3 separate regions of the Homo sapiens genome follow, and all the other regions are linked to region 2. The links are contacts of gene promoters, found by promoter capture Hi-C in human tissues and cell types (Jung and others, 2019). All regions are on one chromosome and are shown on one strand. The core of a region is centred on a gene start or on the middle of the fragment in contact, and the rest is flanking DNA. Distances in the headings are between cores, read along the strand shown.

Region 1 (3,368 bases), core at 575-3,074, 430 kb before region 2:
AACTCTAAATTTCTCAGCAGGGGACAAATCAAGAGCACCAATTTGGATATTCTTTTATCTGGTAACAACCTCCTTTTCTTCCAGCTTTACTTTGTTCAACTTCTCCCGTCATGATCATTTTCAATCACACTGGGACCATTAGTCTATTAATTTCTCTCCCAACATGTCTGTCATCTTCTGTCTTCCTTTTGCATCTTATCCCACTTATATTGTGTACTTTCAGGATTTATTTCAGCACTGCAACGAGCCTTAGATATTTTACTGAAATCAGAAATGTTCCAGCACTGCACAGATGGCTGTACTGATTAAGAGTGTTGTTTTGTAACCATGGGCTAAGGAGTTGATCCTCTGGCATCTTCCAAAGGTGACCTATGAGCGTGTGTGTTTTTTTTTTTCCTTAATCACTATGGACTCAAGGATTTTTTTTTTCTTTTTTTTGAGACAGAGTTTCACTCTGTCACCCAGGCTGGAGTGCAATGGCACGATCTCGGCCCACTGCAGCCTCTGCCTCCCGGGTTCAAGCGGTTCTCCCCCCTCAGCCTCCTGAGTAGCTGGGATTACAGGCATCTGCCATCATGCCCAGCTAATTTTTGTATTTTTATAGAGATGGAGTTTCAGCATGTTGGCCAGGCTGGTCTTGAACTCCTGACCTCAGGTGATTCGCCCGTCTCAGCCTCCCAAATTGCTGGAATTACAGACGTGAGCCACCGCGCCTGGCAGACTCAAGGATTTATTTTATTTAATTTATTTTTTGAGACAGGATCTTGCTCTGTTGTCCAGCTGGAATGCCGTGGCATGACTTAGGGTCACTGCAGACTTGACCTCCCTGACTCAAGCGATCCTCCTGAGTAGCTGGGACTATAGGCACAGTACCATGCCCAGCTAATTTTTTAAAAAATTTTTTGTGGAGATGTGTTTCTCACTATGTTGCCCAGGCTGGTCTCCATCTCCTAGACTCAAGTGATCTTCCTGCCTGTGCCTCCCGAAGTGCTGAGATTACAGGTGTGAGTTACTGTGTGAGGCCAGACTCAAGAATGTTTAACATATTTGATGCATTTCAGTTAATTGCACTTACTATTCTTTGTGAAGCTTAAATTGTCCCATCTTTGACAGTGGGAACCTCTTCAAGGTGGCTTTAGGGTCTTTTTGACACATAAAACCCAGTAGTCTTTGAAAGTTTCCTTGCTTTCTGGTGTGATGGAGCTTGTTCCCAGCTCATCTTACTTTTTTTTTTGAGTTGGAGTCTCGCTCTGTCGCCCAGGCTGGAGTGCAGTGGTGGGATCTTGGCTCATTGCAACCTCCACTTCCCAGGTTGAAGCGATTCTCCTGCCTCAGCCTCCTGAGTAGCTGGGACTACAGGCACATGCCACCATGCCCGGCTAATTTTTGTATTTTTAGTAGAGACGGTATTTCGACGTGTTGGCCAGGCTGGTCTCGAACTCCTGACCTCACATAATCCACCCACCTCGGCCTCCCAAAGTGCTGGGATTACAGGCGTGAGCCACCACGCCTGGCCCATCTTACATATTTTTGTCCCAGACTGAGAATCAGCCATTTCTATCAGGAGCCTGGGTTTCTGATTCCCTTTGACAGAAAATGGTATTTATAGGCCACAGCCTAGGCATGAGAGATGCTAATTGCTACTAAATTGGTTATGGTTTCTAAGCCTTTTTAGTGGACAGAGCTCAGACATTCTTTTTTTTTTTTTTTTAGGAGAAAAAAATCGTAAGTTCATTTTATTCAAATTTAGGATTACAAGGTTTTTATTTAACTTTAAAAAGTTAAAAGGTTTTTAATTAAAAAGTTTTAAATTTTATTTTGATATCACTTTTACACTGAAAATTTTAGTTTCTAAGTATATTAATGGCCAGGAGTGGTGGCTCACACCTGTAATCCCAGCACTTTGGGAGGCGGAGGTGGATGGATCACCTGAGATCAGAAGTTCGAGACCAGCCTGGCCAACATGTCGAAACCCCATCTCTACTAAAAATACAAAAATTAGCCAGGCGTGGTGGTGCATGCCTATAGTCCCAGCTACTCAGGAGGCTGAGGCAGGAGAATCACTTGAACCCAGGAGGTGGATGTTGCAGTGAGCCGAGATCACACCAGTGCACTCTAGCCTGGGCAACAGAGCAAGACTCCATCTCAAAATAAATAAATAAATAAATTTTAAAAATTTAATATAATTTTATTTGTTACATATAAAATGGCTTCAGAATAATAATACCAAAATTATTACTAACCATATAATTACTGAAAATAGTTTAAAATGTCTTTGACTTTTTAAAAATTCCAGATATATTCTAGTAAGGATACATAGTCAAATTATTGTGTTTTAAAACCATGTGAAATAATCCTTTCTGTATGGTTAAGCCACTAAGTCAATTCAAAGGGTGGATCTATTTGTTTCCTTTTGCTTTTGCTTTTCATGAATTGATTTTCTTTTCCATTTTGATTTAACATTGTTTTATAATTTTATAAACCTGTCTCAGATACTTGGGAGGCTGAGTCGGGAGAATCACTGAAGCCCCGGAGTGTGACGCTACAGGGTGCTATGATCATACCTGTGAATGATCTGCACTCCTGTTTGGGCAACATACCTAGTCCTATCTCTAAAAAAACAAAAACAAAAACACAATACATTTACAGGGTTTGAAATCAAATCTACAAAACTATGTATATTCTGAAAACTTTAGCTTTTATTCCTTCCACCCTATTCCTTCCCTCTCCCATAGGTTACTTAATTTTTTTAATTCAAAAATTGTTTTGTCTATCCTTCCAGTTTTGAAAATATAAGCAAGTATTTTATATCTGTGCATATATATATACACCTTTTAGATAAACAGAAGCATACTGTAGACACTTTTTCCACCTTCTTTTCAGCTGACAACATATCCTGGAGATTGATTGCTTCATGGCAGTGTATAAAAATATTCTTCATTCCTTTCCACTTCTCCATTGGGTGCACTATAGCTCCAGTCTCTCGCAGATAACCATTTGAGCTGTTTCCAGTTATTTGCTATTACAAGTGCTGCAGTGTATAGCCTTCCAGATACTTAATTAAGATTTTATAAGTATGATCATATTTTATGGAATCTGAAACCCCATTGATTATAAGTGACACCATTACTCTATATAACACTAAAAAAGAAAAACACCCTGCCAATTAACTGTAAAATGCCATTGATTGTAAAATGAATCTCAATTTCAGAGCTGTAAAATGTAAAAAAGTGTACATCTTAGCATTTAGGAAATTAAAATTTCGTGTAATCCTCATAACAATCTAAAAGGAAGGTACATATAACTATTGTGAGCTCCATGAAGGAACAAAGTTTTTCTTGTTTTTGGCTCTAATATGTTTTTTAAAA
Region 2 (3,554 bases), core at 383-2,882:
CGTGCTCACACCCATCACACCTCACCCCTCCCAGACACACCCACCCCGCCACAGCCATTTCCAGAGGGTACCCCAGGCCCATGGCTTTCTCGACTTTCTGGCCCATTAGGCAGCAAGTCTGGAAAGAGCTAGAGAAAGCAAGGGAGGAAGCGAGGGAGTTGTTTGGGGGTGGATGGGGAGGCATATTACGTAGTTGGGCTTGACAGAAAAATCCCATTCTCTTCCCAGTAACCTCCAGTGTTTGAGAAAAGAGGAGGGCCACAGGGGCAGGGCGCAGAGGAGCAGAGGATGGAGGAGAGGGAGAACCCACAGAGTAAACCTGATTGCAGAAGAGAGGCAAGGAGGGAGGGCCTAGGAGGGTTTGATGTGGGCGATATACCGCCTGGCCGAGAGCGGGTCAGGGGAACAGGGCTGACCCTGACCCCAAACTATCTCTACTTGCCCCACGTTTCTCTTGTCCTTCCAGTTATCCCTCATTCTCCTTCCTTCTAGGGAACAGCTGGTAGGAGCCCAGCCTTCCAGAACTCTTCAGAAATATTTCAAATATGCCCCACCCTCGCTCTCAGAACCCACTTGACACAGCCCTCCCCTTCTCTCTGTCACTCCTTCCTCCCTTCCCCAAATAACCCAGATATTTTCATCATTCTCCCCACCAGAGCAAATGCAAACATAGCATGAGTTTCAAAGTCCCTGTCCCCAGGGTGGCACGTCTGAGCTAGAACAACCAGGCTTGTTTGGCCTGTGTCTTGGAGCCACTGAGACCAGGTGTCTTTCAGATCCATTTCTCCCCTTGGCTCTGTCCTCAGCTGGGACCTGCCCCCAGAGGAAGCCTTCCTTCAGCTCACCTCTGTCCACTGTCACCCCCCACCCAACCCAAACAAGGGAGAGTTTTCTCAAAGAGGCCATCGCATCTTTTTTTGGTCCCTATCCTATTCTAAAATGAGGCTGGTGCTTCAAAAACCTAGTGGCACCCCATGATAATGTGGATTTGGGCACACATGGGAACAGTCCCCATGAAACAGGCCCCACCCATAGGTGGTCAGTAGGCATCTCTGGTTGTCATCCAGGACTTGGGTGGCCCACTCAGGCCCAGGAAGCCCCACCAAGTCCTCCTTCTCTTCCTCTTCCTCCTCCTCCTCTTCCTCCTCCTCCCCCACCCTCCTCCTCTTCCTCCTCCTCCCCCACCCTCCTCGTCTTCCTCCTCTTCCTCCTCCTCCTCTCCTGCTTAGCCGAGGGCTCCTTCCCCCAGCTCCTCACTCAATTCTGTGAGTTCACCCCATGTCTAAGTGCCAGGCCTCCCTGGCCCTCCTGTAGGAAGTTTGTGCTCTGTGATCACCCCGAATCCCTCCCTCATGACGCACACCCCCCCCCACGGCCCGGGCCCTGAAGGATACTTCCATTCTACAATGCTGATGCAGGCCTTCCTCAGGGGGTTCTCCAGGGTCAGGCAGAACAAGGCCCGGGGTGGCCTTGGCAGAATCTCAGGAACTGGCTTCTTGGGCTGTTTCTTCCTCAGGCCTTCATCCTGGGGTGAGGATGGCTCCATGGCTTCCCTGGGAATCTGGCTTTCTCCTGCTCCCCCACCCCAGTGCTTTCCCTTCCCTGTGTCCCCAATGCCCCCGCCTTGGGGACTAGGCTGGCTGAGGCTGTCGGCTGAGCCTGCCCTGCTGAGCCAGCCAGGGGGCGGGGGCAGGAGTGGGGGCAGGAGGATTACTCTCCTCGCTCCCAGCAAGTAAAATTAGCCTCCACTCGGCTCCCCGCTGCCGGGCCTGAGCTTCTGAGGCCAGGCAGCTGTCATTCCACCCAGCCCAGCCAGTGACTTCCCAATCTGTCCCCTGAGGAGGGTGGGGTGGGTCGGGGGAAGAACTTACACACAGGCCTGGGATGGGGCAGGGGCAGTGGGAGAGGGAGACAGGATGGAAGGTTTCAAGCCTGGGGCAACAGAGGTCAGGAATAGGTAGCCTTGGATATGGAACCTCAAACTGCAGAGTGGCCCCCTCATGCCAAAATTAGGCTTACCCCTCCTCAGCCCCATGACATTGTCTGGAGAAGGCACTGGGCAGCCTAAGTCAGGACAGCTCCACAGCAGCCCCTACCCATCTCAGTATCTGCACCATCAGCCAAAACTCCCCAAGCATACCCTCAACCCACCCCCACAAGCAATCCCATGTCAGAGAAACAGTAAACCCCTCTCCAGTGGGCTAGAAGGCTCCCAGAACAACCCTGAGTGTGCACACCTCTGGCATAGCACCTGCCTCACTGTGGAGCATCTGCTGTGTATCTTTCTTCCCCATCTCCTCCCATCCCTACAGGTGTAAAGGTTGTGTGCATTATCTCTGGGACTCTGGCCCCTTCTCTGCACAGTCCCCCTATGTACTATGCTCCCTGTAAATGTTCACTGAGGCCAGGCATGGTGGCTCACGCCTGTAATCCCAACACTTTGGGAGGCTGAGGTGGGAGAATGGCTTGAGCTCAGGACTTCAAGACCAGTCGGGGCAACGTAGTGAAACTCTGTCTCTACAAAAAATACAAAAATTAGCAGGGTATGGTGGTGTGTGTTTGTAGTCCCAGCTACTAGGGGGGCCAAGGTGGGAGGATCAGTTGAGCCTGGGAGGTTGAGGCTGCAATGAGCCAAGATCTGGCCACTGCACTCCAGCCTGGATGACAGAGTGAGACAGAGTGAGACCTTGTCTCAAAAAGAAAAGTTCATTGAGGATAGCCACGGTAATCCCAGCACTTTGGGAAACCAAGGTAGGTAGATAACTTGAGGTGAGGAATTCGAGACCAGCATGGCCAACATGGTGAAACCCGCATTCTACTAAAAATACCAAAGATTAGCGGGCGTGGTGGTGTGCACCTATAATCCCAGCTACTCTGGAGGCTGAGGCAGGAGAATTGCTCAAACCCAGGAGAAGGAGGTTGCAGTGAGCAGGGATTGAATCACTGCACTCCAGTCTGGGCAACAGAGCAAAACCTGTCTCAAAAAAAAAAAAAAAAAAAAAAAAATTCATTGAACGCCTGAGCTAACAACACTGAATCTTAAATGTGCTGAGCTAACAGCGAACCCCACATATCCTCCCAGCAAGTACTCTGGGCTGGGAGTGAGAATAAGAAAGGGGCACCAGGAAGGGTGAGGGTAGACAATGATCTAGGAATGAGAAAATTCAACAATCCTTTTATTTAGCTCTTTGGTGCCGACGCAGTGCCTATGTACCTATATGCACGCCCCCCTCCCCCAAGGCTTACAGTCTGAGGGAAAAAAACCACAGTCCCCACCCAACCTGGGACAAAACTAGACGACCTCATGGGGGGGATGCGGGGAGGGAGTAACCCCCCCTCCCAACCCAGGAAGCCAGAGAACGCCACCGGGGCACACAGGTCGCCTCTGCTGAGTCTGTAGGTTCGGTCTGGGCTGAGCGCCAGCAGCAATCTGGCCTCCCATCCCTTCCTCTGGGTTCCTTTCTCGAGGAGTAAGCGTGCTCCCAAAGAAGTCGCTAGTATCTGAGGCCATCTGGTGGAGAGCAGTGGCATGGTAACCGAGGGCTCAAAGTCGG
Region 3 (3,549 bases), core at 23-2,522, 370 kb before region 2:
GCAGGAGAATCGCTTGAGCCCTAAAGGTGGAGATTGCACTGAGCTGAGATCTTGCCACCACTCTCCAGCCTGGGCGACTTAACAAGACTCCGTCTCAATAATAATAATAATAACAACAACAATCACTTAAAAATAAAATTAGATAATGTATTAAAATGAGACGTGAGGAGCTAGTGATTTAAGTAAGCTCAGTATGTGTTAACTTTGATAATATTCACATGTAGTCCATTAATTGAGCAATTATACTATGGGGCTGGGCACCGTATAGCTGCTGGAGATATACCCTGTCATCATGTCATCAATGGGAAAAACCGACAAGTAACTGATTATTGCCACACGATGTGACAGATGCTACGACAGAAATAAGAACAGGGTGCTCCGGGAACAACAGGGGAGGCACCTGTGTGACAGCCCTGACTGGAAAGTTGTCAGCAGCTGTCAGGGAAGGCTTCATGGAGGAAGTGACTACTGTGGAGTTTGAAGGTGCAGTAGGAGTAAGCTGGGTGGACAGAGGAACCACCCTGAGCAAGGAGGTAGAGATCTGAGAAGGCATGCTCATTGAAGAAAATAGAGAGCAGTTCTGACAAAATGAAGCTATAAAGGCCTGTAGATGCCAGATCACAAAGGGCATTAGCTTGTTTTGTGAAAGAATTTATGCTCTTTTCTGAGAGAATGGGGAGGCATTGTTGGACGTGTGCCCTCTCAGAGATAAAATTTAAGTGGAGAGCACTGAGTTAAGAAAATATCTCGATATCATGAAATTAACACAGGTTTGGAGCCCCCACAGATCCTCAATCCTGGTTAAGTTCCATGTATGACCTAATCAACTCCACCTCTCTTTCGTGGACAATCAGCAATGACATCTACCTCTCAGGATTATTGCGAGGGCTAAATGAGATAGTGCAGGTCAAGTTCGCTGCAAAGTGTGTGTCACATAATGAACATTTTAAGTAAATATCAACTCTTTTCGATGAAGCACTGTGTAAGTAGAATACGAAAGCTATTGCCAGGCCTCTCCCTCCTCCCTCCCTTCCTTTTCCTCTCTCAGCAGTGCAGGCAGCAGCAGCCAAAAGCCAGGGACGTGGAGGATGTCCACTGAAGCGAGTACTCCAGAGCGATGATTAAAAGGCAGCCGCCCCGAATCCCGGGCGCGGGCGGGGAGCGAGGCTGGGCATGCTCAGTGGGCCGGAGACGGGAGGGAAGCGGGGAGGGGGCGGGGGCGGGGGCGGGGGTTGGGGGGGGTGGGTCGGAGCCGCGCGAAGGCGCATGCTCAGTCTCCGCATCTGCTCCTTCATCCAGTGCCGCAGCCGGAAAACCGCAGCGGCGGCGGCGGCGGCTGAGGGGGAACGATCCAGCGAGCTGCAGAAAGGGGGGCAGGAAAAAATTACAAGGACATTACTGATAAGACAGGAACTGAGAGCTTGGGATTCGCGGCCTCTCCCCGGCCACCACCTTCGCCGTCAGCAAGGGAGGAAGACCCGGGAGACGGCAGCGGCGACGGCGGCAGGGGAAGGAGGAGACGGCGACGGGAGGGAGCACAGAGGAGGGGACGGGCCGGCGGCGGCCTGTGAGCCGCAGTGATTTTGACGTTTTCCGCTGCTGCGTCTCCGGCGGGCAGGGGCCGGGCTGCGCTGGGTGGGCCAGCTCGCCCCGCGCTTCCCCCTCGTCCTGCTCGTCCCTCCGCCCACCCGGGGCCTGAGGGGTCTCCCCGCTCCGAGGGAAGGGGAGAGGGAGGCGAGGGCGTGCGGGCATCGCGATGGCGGGGACATTTTCCACAACGTGATTGTTGAAGGCTCCCCCCATCCCCCCTCCCTTAAAATTCCGGGCCCTTCCAGCCTCCACCCTCCCCCAAGCCCGTGTGACTAAACCGAGACAAAGGGGAGGCGGCCTCGCTCACACGCGGGCTCGCGGGGCGGGTGGCTCGGAGGGGCGCGGGCACGGGGCGGACCTCGCGCGGACGGACGGACGGAGACGGCGCCGCCACATTCCTATGCCCGGGAGCGGCGGCGGCGGCGGCGGCGGCTCCCGCGGGAGGCGGCAGGCGCGCGGCGCGGACAGCTGAGCTTCTCCTCCGTCGGCGCCCGGGCGGACATCGCCCGGGCCCCGATGGTTTGAGCTTGCTTCTCCCTCCCTCCCGACCCCCGTGGTGGCGAGGCCACGCCATGTGAAGGTTAGGGCCGGGACATCCCGAGGAGCCGCGGTGAAAGATGGGGGATGCTGCAGACCCCAGGGAGATGAGAAAGACGTTCATTGTTCCAGCCATCAAGCCTTTTGACCACTATGATTTCTCCAGGGCCAAAATCGCCTGCAATCTGGCCTGGCTGGTGGCCAAAGCCTTTGGGACAGGTTAGTGGTGTCACCCTTTCCCTCCCCTCTTCCTCCTGATGTGGTCCACATCTCGGTTTTTGTTCCCGATTCTCGAATCCCTCCCTCCCCGTGCCTGTCTTCTCGTACAGGTTAAGGGAGATGATGGGAGGCTAGGAAGAGAAAGAAAGGAGAAATAAGGAAAGCAGGTTTGGTCTTCAATGAAGGGCACGTGAATGGTCAGGTGGGATTTGGCCAGATTCCTTTTATTGGATGGCAAAATGTCCCCCCCATCCCCCAGTGAGCAATTTTATGTTTTTACATAGAGTGGTTTTGATTTGTGGTATTTTCTTCATTGTGTTGCGTACATTTCTGCCTCAGTCATAATTGTGATTACACCACCAAGAAATCTGAGTTGGTTTCTTTATTATTGCAAGAAGGTGGATGGTGCATAGTACTATATTGATTTTGACATTTGTAATGATGGCTGCTATTCAGGCTCCGTTGGATGTAAGGTGGCCTGTGTCGAGTGCAGTATTAATTTTTGTTGTCATTCTTTAAGGCTGTATCAGCCTTCTGCACGCATGTTAAGTTCTTATTAAATCAGTTATTTAAAACCAGCGTTCAGTTTGCTGACTGTAGGGTGCAGTTTTCATTTCATATTATCAGTGAGGCATATTCTTTTTTCCAAATGTATTTTGGCTTCATAAATTAAAAGAAACAAAAACTCCCTACTTTGGGAAGTTTTTTAATAGATGAGTTTTTCGAAGGCGTGTGCTGTTGACACAGAAATTGTATAGTACAGTAGCAGTTAAACACTCCCTCCATAACCCAGTCTTTGCAAAATAACAGGAAAAGGGCCTCCCGTTATGATTCTTTAGTGTTGCTTTAGGAGCCCATGTTGTGAAATGTTAAAAAAATTAGAGAGCTGCTTTTCATTGGAAGATGCTTCTGTAATTTGGTAACTTTTAAGAGTAATTTTACAAGATTTCTGTTCCCTAGTTAATGAAGTTTAGATATATGAAATATTTGTTGAAAAGTTCCCTAGTACTCACAAATTTCCACATGTTAAATATAGGGTTTTTCAGGGGGAGGGTGACTAATTTCCAATTTTAGGACTATGTAATGTTTTGGTAAATGGTTTAGTTCAGTTTTACTGCTTAAACTTACACAGCTGAGTATTTTCAGGACTTACACATCCTACTTAAATAGCAGATTAATCTCAGTGTTTGGAAAATGATTTGA

The links. The method cuts DNA at HindIII sites, captures the fragments that hold promoters and counts their contacts. A contact is called where the count stands out against the background at its distance.
Region 1: a fragment that was not itself captured here is called in contact with the fragment with the promoter of CACNA1S in region 2 in 1 of the 25 tissues and cell types used here (heart right ventricle).
Region 3: a contact is called between the fragment with the promoter of CAMSAP2 here and the fragment with the promoter of CACNA1S in region 2, in 1 of the 25 tissues and cell types used here (thymus).

Annotation. Positions count from the first base shown.
Region 1 is chr1:200,676,697-200,680,064 of GRCh38, forward strand. All of the region lies in intron 1 of DDX59-AS1 (DDX59 antisense RNA 1), which reads left to right. Among named protein-coding and RNA genes, the nearest start is that of DDX59, 8.5 kb to the left of the region's middle. The HindIII fragment of the contact is 3,264 bases long and covers 193-3,368 here.
Region 2 is chr1:201,110,794-201,114,347 of GRCh38, forward strand. CACNA1S (calcium voltage-gated channel subunit alpha1 S) reads right to left here and starts at 1,633. Exons shown (of 44, transcript NM_000069.3): 1 at 1,395-1,633. The coding sequence starts at 1,546. ASCL5 (achaete-scute family bHLH transcription factor 5) reads right to left here. Exons shown (of 2, transcript NM_001270601.2): 2 at 3,150-3,554. The HindIII fragment of the contact is 14,734 bases long and covers 1-3,554 here.
Region 3 is chr1:200,737,621-200,741,169 of GRCh38, forward strand. It overlaps CAMSAP2 (calmodulin regulated spectrin associated protein family member 2), which reads left to right and starts at 1,273. Exons shown (of 17, transcript NM_203459.4): 1 at 1,273-2,346. The coding sequence starts at 2,208. RefSeq lists an enhancer at 903-982 and silencers at 1,623-1,982, 2,013-2,082. The HindIII fragment of the contact is 12,514 bases long and covers 1-3,549 here.